2 separate regions of the Homo sapiens genome follow, and region 2 is linked to region 1. The links are contacts of gene promoters, found by promoter capture Hi-C in human tissues and cell types (Jung and others, 2019). All regions are on one chromosome and are shown on one strand. The core of a region is centred on a gene start or on the middle of the fragment in contact, and the rest is flanking DNA. Distances in the headings are between cores, read along the strand shown.

Region 1 (5,961 bases), core at 2,338-4,837:
GCTGAGGTGGGAGGAGTGCTTGAGCCTGAGAGATCAAGGCTGCAGAGAGCCATGATCATACCACTGCACTCCAGCCTGGGCGACAGAGCGAGACACTGTCTCAAGAAAAAAAAAAAAATTATTTGATGTAGTCCTAAAACTATTATGTAGAATACTATTGTTTATATCACAGCACGTGAGCCCCTTAAATGGCTTAACACTTATTTAGGTATGATCCATAAAGCTTTTCTGGTAATTAAGTATACTTAAGAACAATTAAGTATAAAAGAGTTACTGCCTTGACAGGAAGATTGTAAAAATTTTAAAAAGACAAATAAATAAAAGAGTAAAAACTGTAGCTCTGTGAGGCTCAAATAACATCTAATTCAAGTCACAATGAACATCTAGCAATCATTCTGAACACCATATAATTCACTTAATACGTTTTGCCTGAACACCCAACACATCTGAATTACCAACACCCATATGTAGCCAAGAAACTGGCAATCATTTATAAATTATCACCTATGACTCCATCTGCTCTACGCACTTATTTTTTAAATTTTATTCATTTATTTATTATTTTTATTTGTTGTAGAGATGGGATCTCACTATGTTACCCAAGTTGGTCCAGAAACAGAAACAGACCCACACTAATTTCATAAATCAGATGACCATACAGTCATTCGATTTATGAAAAAAAGTGCCACATGGTGCGGAAGGAAAAGGATGGTCTTTTCAATAAATGGTGCTGGATCAAGCAGACACATCCATGTAGTAAAAAGTGAATCATAGCCAGGTGGGGTGGCTCACACCTGTAATTCCAGCACTCTGGGAGGCTGAAGCGGGCAGATTACTTGAGCCCAGGAGTTCGAGACCAACCTGGGAAACATGTTGAATCCCCATCTCTACAAAAAATATGAAAATTAGCCAGGCATGGTGGCACATGCCTATAGTCGCAGCTACTCAGGAGGCTGAGGTGGGAGGATCACTTGAGCCAGGAGATGGAGGTTGAGTGAGCTGAGATCCTGCCACCACACTCTAGCCTGGGCAATAATAGACTGAGGCCCTGTCTGAAAAAAAAAAAAAGCAAAAACTAAAATAAAATCGTTATAAGGTTAACACAGAAAAATGTGTTCATACTCTTAGGTTAGGCATTGATTTCTTAAACAGGACACAAAAAACAGTAACCATAAAGGAAAAGATTAATAAAGTATAATTTCATTAAAATGAAGAATCTCAGGCTGGGTGCAGTGGCTCATGCCTGTAATCCCAACCCTTTGGGAGGCCGAGGCAGGTGTATCACTTGAGCCTAGGAATTCCAGACCAGCCTATGCAACGTGGCAAAACCCATCTCTACTAAAAATACAGAAAACAGCTGAGTGTGGTGGTACTCCCCTGTAGGTCCCAGCTACTTGGGGGCTGAGGCAGGGGGATCACCTGAGCCTTGTGAGGTCAAGGTTGCAGTGAGCTGTGATTGTGCCACTGCACTCCAGCCTGGGCGATGGAGTGAGATCCTGTCTCAAAAAGAAAAAAAAAAAAAGAGAATCTCCCTTCATGAAAAAACACCATAAAAGAGTGAAAACGCAAGCTACAGATTGAAAAAAGGGAAATGCAATACATATAAATCCTAGAAAGGAGGCATATCCAGAATAAAGTATTACAAATCAACAGGAAAACAAGCATATCAATGAAAACTGGATAAAAAGATTTAACAGGCACGTCACAAAAGAGGACATATAAATGGCAATAAAAGATACTCAATCTCAATGAAACCACACTGATATATTACTGCACCCCTACTAGAATGGCAAAATAATTTTTAACTGACAGGTATCAGCGAAGATGTGGGGTAACCAGCATATCCCTGCTAAATGGTACAACTACTTTGGGAAAATGTTCAACAATATGTAATACTAAAGTTTTATCATTCATATACCTCTAAAACCAACAATGCCACCCCTACAAATATACCCCAGACTAGTAATGTTCAATTTCTTGATCTGTGGTGGTTCACTTGGTAAAAATTCATTACTTTTTTTTTTTTTTTTTTGAGACAGGGTCTCACTCTGCCATCCAGGTCGGAGTGCACTGCCATGATCACGGCTCACTGCAATCTCAACCTCCCGGGCTCTGGTGATCCTCCCAACTCAGCCTACCGGGTAGCTGGGACTACAGGCACACGCCACCACACACAGCTAACTTCTGTATTTTTAGTAGAGAAAGGGTTTTGCCACATTGCCCAGGCTGGTCTGGAAATCCTGGGCTCAAGTGATCTACCCACCTTGGCGTCCCAAAGTGCTGGGATTACAGGTGTGATCACTGCGCCCGGGCCACCTGCACATGTAAAATTGTGAACTTCTGTATACTTCAGTAACTTTTCCAAGATTTCTTTGACGCAAAGTTCTCAGAAATCTTAAAGCTAGCATTTCAGAATAGAAAAAGTAGCTTCTGGTTCACTAGTGAAATTTTACCAATAGAATTTAAAAACAAAAAGCTACTAACGCATATCAGCTCAGAACACTACCAGCAGATCTTTTCTTTAACTTCCTGAAGCACTGGGATTCATTCTTTTGGCAAAGAAAGGATGAACAACACTGTAACCCAAAGAAAAGATACCACTGCCAGAAAAGACTTCTTTTCGAAAGCAGCTCTAAGCAAAAGATAGGAGGAAAACAAGGAAGCCAGGCCAAACGTCTTGGTTAACTCTCCGCTGAAAGGACGCCACATGAGATGATCTAAGAAGCCAGCCAGCCAGCCAGACGCAGGGAAATCACAGCAACTCTTTGGAGTGCAAACAGCAACCCCACAATCCAATCTACCCGAAATCCTGCGGTTCATTTGAGGCTTGCCCCGCTAGTCAGGAGGTGATTCAGTGATGGCTACAAATGCTGCTCATGTGCATCCTGGAGCTGGCACACCTGGCTTGCCCATCACCAGCCTGGAGACACCGCCAGGAGCAGAAGCCCGGAGGCCAGTAAAGACCCCAACTTTGCAAGTCAGGGGCGCGAGCGCGCTCGCCTCTCAGGTCCGCAGAGGGAACGGATTTCTGGCCTGGAGGGTGGGGTGCGGGGTCAGTGTCCTCTACAGGATATAGGAGGACGTGCCCCCGAAGCTGCTCCGTCCCTCCACCCCCTGGGATGCCACAGAACACCCGCCAGCGAGTTTCTTCCCCAGCGCCCACGAGAGTTGGGCTGCGGGCGGCAGCGGCAGGCGAAGAATCCAGCGCGGGGAACTCAGGCCCCGGCGGTGCACGACCCCCCACAGCCCCCACCCGCCCCCGCGCTCGCGCAACAAAACTTGCCACGGCCGCGCCTCGACCCAGCTGTGCGCCCGCGGGTCCCGGATTCACCGCCCGCCCAGCCTGGCGCGGCGCCCTCACCTCAGAAACGCTGGGTGGACTTCGCGTAACTTCCCATTCACAGGGCAGCCGGCAGCCGCGCCGCCGCGCCTCGGCCCAGCTCCTGGCGCCGCAGATCGCCCGTCCCGCGTTCCCAAAAGCACCGCGCTCGCTCAGAAGCTCGGGCAGCCTCGCGACCCTCACCTACGCCTCCCAGTACCGCCGCTGTCTCAACCGCCACCCAGCCCCTCGCCTGCGCCTGCGCCTGCAGCCCACTGGCTCCTCAGGATCCCGATGGGCGTGTCAGGATAACCCAAGGCGCAGGCGCGGCGGGGCCTTAAAGGGACCCGGCGGCCTCTTCTGCACAACGGGTTCGAGCAGGTTAGGGGCCGCGCAGGCGGAGGAAAGGAGTAACCCAGGGGAAGGACCGAGTGCAGCGGGGACGGGGAAATCCCTCTCTCCCCTCCGCCTGTCTTTCAAAGCACCAGCCCTCGACCCTCCAAATCGCTGGTTTCCCCGGCCACTTGAACAGCCCCTGCCAGGTTGAAGAGGCAGGAGACACACCCCCTCTGGGGCTGGAGCGACCCCGCGCTTAGGACTGCAGGCCTCGCGCTGCCGCACCGCCCCGAATCTGACTTCCAGGCACGGGCACGCGGTGCAGTCGGGCAGGCTTCAGAAGAGCCCCCAGCTCTCCCAGAGGTGGCCTTAGGTCACTCTCAAAAAGAATAACCAATGTGTCAATGGCACTTGTAGTTATTTTCTAATTTAAATTTATTAACAGATTTTGCAGATGGGCTTCCACTGAAATAAGCCTTTGAGAAAAAGAAAAACTTTTTTTTTCAACAGGATTAGAATACCAAGAAATAGGAAGTAAAGCCATGCCGTCCACCCAGCTAAAAACTTTGAAAACTTGATATTTTATCTAAGGCAAATGTTTGCATAACTTTAGGTCATGCCATTATTTAAAGTCAATTTCAGTTAACAATTTCATTGCAACTGAATCTATCTTGTATAAGAAAACTAAGATACATCCCTGATAATCTACCTCTCCCCTCCTATACTCCATCCGTCAGCAAATCCTACTGGTTTTTACCTTCCAAATTTTCCTTGAATCTGTCCTCTTCTATCTCCTCCGTCACCACCCTAGTCTAGGCTGCCTTCACCTGGGGAGTGAGGGTCGAGGGACTACTGACCTAGTCTTCTTGTGGTTTACCCATATCCCCTTTATCGCCTCTCTAATCTCAACACAACAGGCAGAGTGGCTTTTCCAAAATATAATGTGACCGTGTCACTTCCCAGCCTAAAGCACTTAAACACCTTCCCATTCTCTTAGACAAAACCTCCTAACTAACCAAGCCCCGAATGGCCAGGCGCCTTGCCCACTTCTTCATCTCTTCTCACTACTCAGACCAATTCTGTTCTGCTCTCTCTGCTCCAGCCAAACTGGCCTCTTTTATTCCCTATTTACCAGCTTCCTGGCCTCCACAGAGCTTTTGCTCATGCTTTGCTCTGTGCCTGGAAAGTTCTTCTAACCCCTATTCTTCTGAGAACAGCTGTAGTCTCCACCTCTGAAAAGCACCTTCTGACCTCCCTATGGTGGTCCCTTACTCCTATCACATTGCATGAAACTGTAATCGGGTGGTTATTTTGGTGAATTTTTTACTATCGGCTACGTAAGCCCAGGGTTTGGTTTTGTTTGCTTCATGATTTGTATTTCCACATTTGTTAAATACATATTTGTTCATAAATGAGAATGATGGATGCTAGAAGTTGAAGTAAATTTGGCATAAAGTCAGAGAAAGAGAAAATGTCACAATCTGACAGTTGGAGTCAGAATGTAGAAACTTCAGTTATATTAAAACTGATTTTATATCGTTTTAGGCTGAGTTGTCTTAGGATGCTTTGGGTAACCTTTAAAACTGAGTTCTCAAAGAGCCTTGTATAAACACCTGAATTAATAATGATAAGCCATGGGGTGGCCCACATAAAACTAATAACATTGGTTGCTTTAAGAGAGGAAGACTGAGCCAGGCACAGTGGCTCATACCTGTAATCCAAGCACTTTGGGAGGCCAAGGCCCGCAGATCATTTGAGCTCAGGAGTTTGAGACTAACCTGGGCAACTTGGTGAGACCCTGTCTCTACATAAAATACAAGCAAAATTAGCCAGGCGTGGTGGCGGGCACCTGTACTCCCAGCTATTTGGGAGGCTGAGGTGGGAGGATTGCTTGAGCTCAGGAGGTTGAGGCTGCAGTGAGCCATGATCATGCCACTGCATTCCAGCCTGGATGACAGAGCAAGATCTTGTCTCAAAGAGAGAGAGAGAGAGAGAGAGAAATGAAGACTGGTGACTGGTGGCTACTGGTGGGAAGGAGATTTTTACTAAATGCCCAAAAGGTTTAAAATTGTAACTTTTTTATTTCAAAGTCTGTGAAGATAAATGACACAAAAGAGCACATACCTTCCCATTTATTTGAAATTCTAGAAAGGGGAAAATTAATCTGTGGTGAAAAAATCATAGCAGTGGTTCCCTCTGGCAGGGGATTGACTGGGAAGTTACATGAGAGAAATTTCTGGGTGGTAAAAATGGTCTCTGTCTTGATAGGGATATGAGTTATATAAGTGTATTCATTTGTCAAAAAA
Region 2 (5,440 bases), core at 1,072-3,571, 260 kb after region 1:
CTTCACATCCCCTCTTTTTTTTCTTCCACACTCGAGAGTGTCTCTCTCTCTCAGTAAAAGCTCCACCAAATATTTGAAATATCTCAACCAGAAAGACTGCAATAAATACATTATTTCATTCGTGGAAGGTACAGACCAGCTAGATTGAGAGTTGCTTGATATTTTCTGCTAAACGGTGAGGCATAGAGCACTTGGAAGGTTTCTCTTTGGGCCACTGTTTGTGTACTCTTGGGTTTCCTTCTTTTCCCCAGACAGTATGGCGCTGTGGGGCCAGGGGTAAACCCTGCTTTCCGGCTTTCTGGCTGCAGATAAAGGCCTCAGCTGGTGCAGGAATCAAAAGCAAACCAAAAGACACGTGGGTTCGCCCCAGTGGGTCCAAGATAGAGTCTGACTGTACCAGGATTCCGATTAGAACAGAGGTTGCTGCAGGCACAACGCAGACTACTAACCACTAGAGAATCCCAAGGCGCCCCACACCTACTGCCCGTCGTTTTGCTTCCCCACCCCTCTATTATTTATTTGTATATTTTTTTGAGAGACAGAATTTCGCTTTGTCGCCCAGGCTGGAGGGCAGCGGCACGATCTCGGCTCACTGCTACCTCCGCCTCTTAGGTTCAAGCGATTCTCCTGCCTCAGCCTCCTAAGTAGCTGAGACTACAAACGTGCACCACCACGCCCAGCTAATTTTTGTATTTGTGGTAGAGACGAGCTTTCACCATGTTGGCCCGGCTGGTCTCGAACTCCTGACTTCAAGTGAGTGATCCACCCACCTCGGCCTCCCAAAGTGCTGGGATTACAGGCGTGAGCCACCGCCCCTGGTCCCCCGATTTTTTTTATTAATGTAAAAACATTATGCGATTTTTACTTCTTTATTCTTGGGCAGCTACAGGTTCTTGTGATTTTCTCTCACATCTTCTCCCCATTTCCCCCTCTCCATTCTGATACATGTCCCATCTTCTCTGCATCCAGCCGGTGCCCTCTGCACGGGCATCCTGGGCTGTCCCATTGTCTAGTCCTGGTCTCCCCTGCTTCTCCCTCCTCCTTGTCACGTTTTCCCTTTTGACTCCCCTGCCTCTTTCCCGCTCCCGCCCCACCGACCCCATCTACTGAAGCCGAGTTGAGTGAAGGGAGAGCAAGCGGAACAGATGATTGCCTGAAGGCGGCGCAAAAGAACAGAAAGAGCTACCGTGAGAGCCGTCGGGGAGTTCAGCTTCCCTTGGGCCCTACTTGGCTCAGGCTGGGGTCGCAGATCCAGGCATTTCCAGAGGCACTGGCTTCTGAAGCAGGCGAGGGTGAACGCAGGGTGAAGGCCATTCGGCCGCCCTTCTGGCTTCAGAGTCACGCAATGCACGCGTTTCTAACGTGCAGCAAGACGATTAGTCGACTCAGCCTCTCCGGTTTTCTGAAGCTTTGTAGTCTGCACAGTTGTCCCGCAGAAAGCGAATGGCAACTCCTAGGGTTTAGTGATTGCTTAATCTATATAGAGATGAAAGCAAGCGATTGAGGTTGTCTCTGTGGTGCAATCGGTTAGCGCGTTCGGCTGTTAACCATAAGGTTGGTGGTTAGAGACCACCCAGGGACGTGATTTTAAATGTTGGTTGTGACCAGGCGCAGTGCCTCACGTCTATTAATCCCAACGCTTTGATAGGCTGAAGTAGGGGAAGCCTCCACGGAGCTCAGAAGTTCAAGACCAGTGAGAATCCCACCTCATTTAAAAAAAAAAAAATGCAGTTGTATCTATCTCCTCAGACCCTTCAATGTATTTAAAAGTGAAAGACTGTTCCCTTGTGTCTTGTGCATCCCATGAGGACAGACAGCAGAAGGTCCCCCTCCAAGCCTCCTAGAAAATGAGATCTCTGCAGAACAAACTAGCTTGTATGTACGGGAAACGGAAAGTATTTGAAGGAACAAACTTCAAAAATTCTGCCTTGCTTTCCACAAAAATTAACCCATCACAGTCTGCCTTCAAGTGGCATCATACCTCTTCCCATGACTCCTCCCCCTGCCTTTATGCTATTGTCATGCATTTTACTTTACACCTGTTATAAACCTTACAATCCATCTCTATTACTTTTGTTTCAAGAGTCAGATGTGTTTTTGTTTGTTTGTTTATTTTTGTTTTTTTGTTGCTGGTGGTGGTGTTTTTAAGACGAGTCTCACTCTATCGGACAGGCTGGAGTGCAGTGGCACAGTCTTGGCTCACTGCAACCTCTGCTTTCCGGGTTCAAGCGATTCTCCTGACTCAGACTCCTGAGTAGCAGAGACTACAGGCTTGGGCCACCATATCGGACTAATTTCTGAATTTTTAGTAGAGAGGAAGGTTCACCATATTGGCCAGGATGGTCTCAAACTCCTGACCTCAAGTGATCCACCTTCCTTGAATCCCAAAGTGCTGGGATTCCAGGCGTGAGCCATCGTGCCCGGCTAAACAGTCAGATGTTAAAATTATATATTTGCCTATGTACATGTCATTTCTAGTGTCTTTTTTTTTTCATCCAGATTTTCATCTGGTGTCAGTTTCCTTCTGCCTGGAGGACTCCTTTAACTTGTCTATTAGGTGTCTTAAACTTGCACTGTCATTCACTGATGCTCTGTTCATTTAAAAAAAAACTTGTTGGCCGGGTGCGGTGGCTCACGCCTGTAATGCCAGCACTTTGCGAGGCCGAGGTGGTAGATCAGGAGGTCAGGAGATCGAGACCATCCTGGCTAACACGGTGAAACCCCGTCTCTACTAAAAATACAAAAAAATTAGCTGGCTGTGGTGGCGGGCGCCTGTAGTCCCAGCTACTCAGGAGGCTGAGGCGGGAGAATGGTGTGAACCCAGGAGGCGGAGCTTGGAACCTGTCAAAAGGCATTCTTAGCCTTAAAAGAAAAGCCAGGGACATCCCTTGCCTCAGGACTCTCGAACTTAGAAAAACCTTTCACCCTCTATGTGGATGAATAACAAGGGACAGCTTCAAATGTTCTAATTCAAAGGCTGAGGAATTGCTTTGGACCAGTGGCTTATTTCTCTAAACAGCTAGACCAGGTGGCAGCTAGGTGACTAGGAAGCTTGAGATCTGTGGCTACCATCACTTTATTGTTAGAAGAAACCAGTAAGTTTACCTTGGGACAAAAATTACATGCCATACCACCCCACCCCCACCCCCTGCCACCCCATGAAGTACAGTACAGAGGGTCCTAGAGGCAAAAGTACACCAATGGCTAACAGGGAGCCAGTTACTTAAATATCAGACCCTTCTGCTTGACACCCCAGATGTTACCCTGAAAGTATCCTGATTTTGAAACCCTGCTACTCTGTTGCTGCACCTCACATCTCAAGAAACAGATCCCAAACTCATTGACTCCTGTGTGGAAACCACGGAAGAGCTCTACTCTAGAAGGCCCAACCTTGAAGACAAGCTGTTGTCTAACCCAAATGTTGAGTGGTTTAGAGATGGAAATAGCTATATTCATGAGGGAGTAAGAAAGGAAGCTTAGCCAACAAGAAGTCATTGAGGCCAAGGGTTTACCTTCTCAGACTTCTGTTCAAAAAGCAGAATTAGCTGCTCTAATTAGGGCCTTCCAACCATGAAAAGACTTAAGCTGGACACGGTGGCTCACGCCTGTAATCCCAGCACTTTGGGAGGCCAAGGTGGGTGGATCACCTGAGGTTGGGAGTTCGAGACCGGCCTAGCCAACATGGCGAAACCCCGTCTCTACTAAAAATACAAAAATTAGCCGGGTGTGGTGGGGTGCGCCTGTAATCCCAGCTACTTGGGAGGCTGGGGCATGAGAATCCCTGAGTTTGCAGTGAGCTGAGATTGCAGTGAGCTGAGATCATGCCACTGCACTCCAGCCTGGGCGACACAGCAAGACTCCGTTTCAAAAAAAGAAGAAGAAAACCAAAACCTCAAGAGTCAATGTGTTGACTGACTCTAAATATGGGTTCCTGGTGCTCCATGCTCATGCAGCCATAGGGAAGGAAAGGGGACTATCAAGAGCCAAGGGATCCCCCACACAACTTTACTCAGATCTTGGAACTTTTAGATGCTGTCCAACTCCCAAAGAAATAACAATTACTCACTGCAGGGGACACCAGAAGGGAGACACTTTTATTATTAGAGGAAATTCCCTGGTGGAAAGAGCAGCTAAGGCCACAGCTAAGGAAACCCTGGTATTTCAGGCTGCTGCGCTACTACCAGGTACTGCATCCGTGTCAGTGACACCATACTATACCCCTAAGGAAATTAAAGGGACTGAGTAAAAGGCTTCCAGGGAGACCCCTCTGGATGGTTGCTAGAAAAGAACAAACTCTATTCCTGAGGCTGACAAATGGGAAATAATTAAACATTTTCATGATTCCTCACATTTGGGACAGGATTTTCCATTTAAATTAGTTTCCTAAATATTCTTGCGGAAGGGACTGTTCCAAACTATAAAAAGGGTTACCACTCAGGAAGCCACCCCATACCCCGATCCCTGCTTAAACCTGTACAACACCAAGGAACATACCATGGTGAAGACTGGCAGACAGACTTAACCCAGATGCCACCTTACAGGGGAGTACAAGATTTGCTAGTATTTATAGACACTTTCACCAGGTGGATAGAAGCTTTCCCCACAAGGACAGGAAAAGTACTGGAAGTGTCTAAATTCTTAAAGAAATCATTCCAAGATTTGGATTACCAAAAGGTTTGCAAGGTGACAACTGACCTCACTTCACAGCTAAGGTGACCCAGTGAGGTCATGCCTCAGCCTTAGGCATTACCTATCTTCACTCCTCATGGAGATCTCAGTCTTCAAATAACATAGAAAGCCAATCGCGACATTAGCAAAACTCTTTCAGTTTGGGGGCTTGCCTGCCCTGCGTCACTATCATTGTTTCCTTGGGTTTCCCAGGAATGTACATGTGTCAGACTGCCGCCCTGCTTATAGATCTGTTTCCCTGCAAGGAAACAGGAATATGTTGCCTGTGGCTTCCAGAGTTGGAGATACATGTAGTTGCACCCCTGAGGGCTAACATTTAATTTTGGAATCAAGTGATGCATTCAGACTGGTTGTTATCATTCTGTGGTATATATTTAGTGAACACATTCTGATTGAGTTTCCTGCTTTTAGCTGGAGCAAGAAAGTTTAATAATTGTGATTTGTATGAAAAAAATCATAGGCAAGGGAATGGGTGTAAAATAAACTTTATTGTCAGAGGTTTCTAAAGGCTCATCCTTCAAGGAAAACGGACATATGCTGAAGAGCTGATAAACCGTCTACAGCAGTGTTATTCTAAGCTAATCTTGATTCCAAGTTCTTGCCATTTTCCTCCAGCTGCTGTTGACTCCAGTTATATATAGGATGGGGGAAAGGGGATTATCTATGAATGTAGGCATCACTCTCTCTTGGGCAGTTATCACATTGGCAGACTGAAGGGATGTGATTTCTACAGTCAAACTATCCATTTGGA

Evidence for each region. Contacts are between HindIII fragments. The study calls those that stand out against the background at their distance.
Region 2: a contact is called between a fragment that was not itself captured here and the fragment with the promoter of NBPF1 in region 1, in 14 of the 25 tissues and cell types used here (H1 embryonic stem cells, IMR-90 fibroblasts, adrenal gland and 11 more).

The regions. Positions count from the first base shown.
Region 1 is chr1:16,609,977-16,615,937 of GRCh38, forward strand. NBPF1 (NBPF member 1) reads right to left here and starts at 3,588. Exons shown (of 18, transcript NM_001405701.2): 1 at 3,362-3,588. RefSeq lists an enhancer at 3,432-4,389. The HindIII fragment of the contact is 9,860 bases long and covers 1-5,961 here.
Region 2 is chr1:16,873,955-16,879,394 of GRCh38, forward strand. It overlaps LINC03126 (long intergenic non-protein coding RNA 3126), which reads left to right. Exons shown (of 2, transcript NR_160658.1): 2 at 1-142. Among named protein-coding and RNA genes, the nearest start is that of TRE-TTC3-1, 4.1 kb to the left of the region's middle. RefSeq lists enhancers at 697-1,260, 1,261-1,823 and a silencer at 1,097-1,255. The HindIII fragment of the contact is 3,425 bases long and covers 610-4,034 here.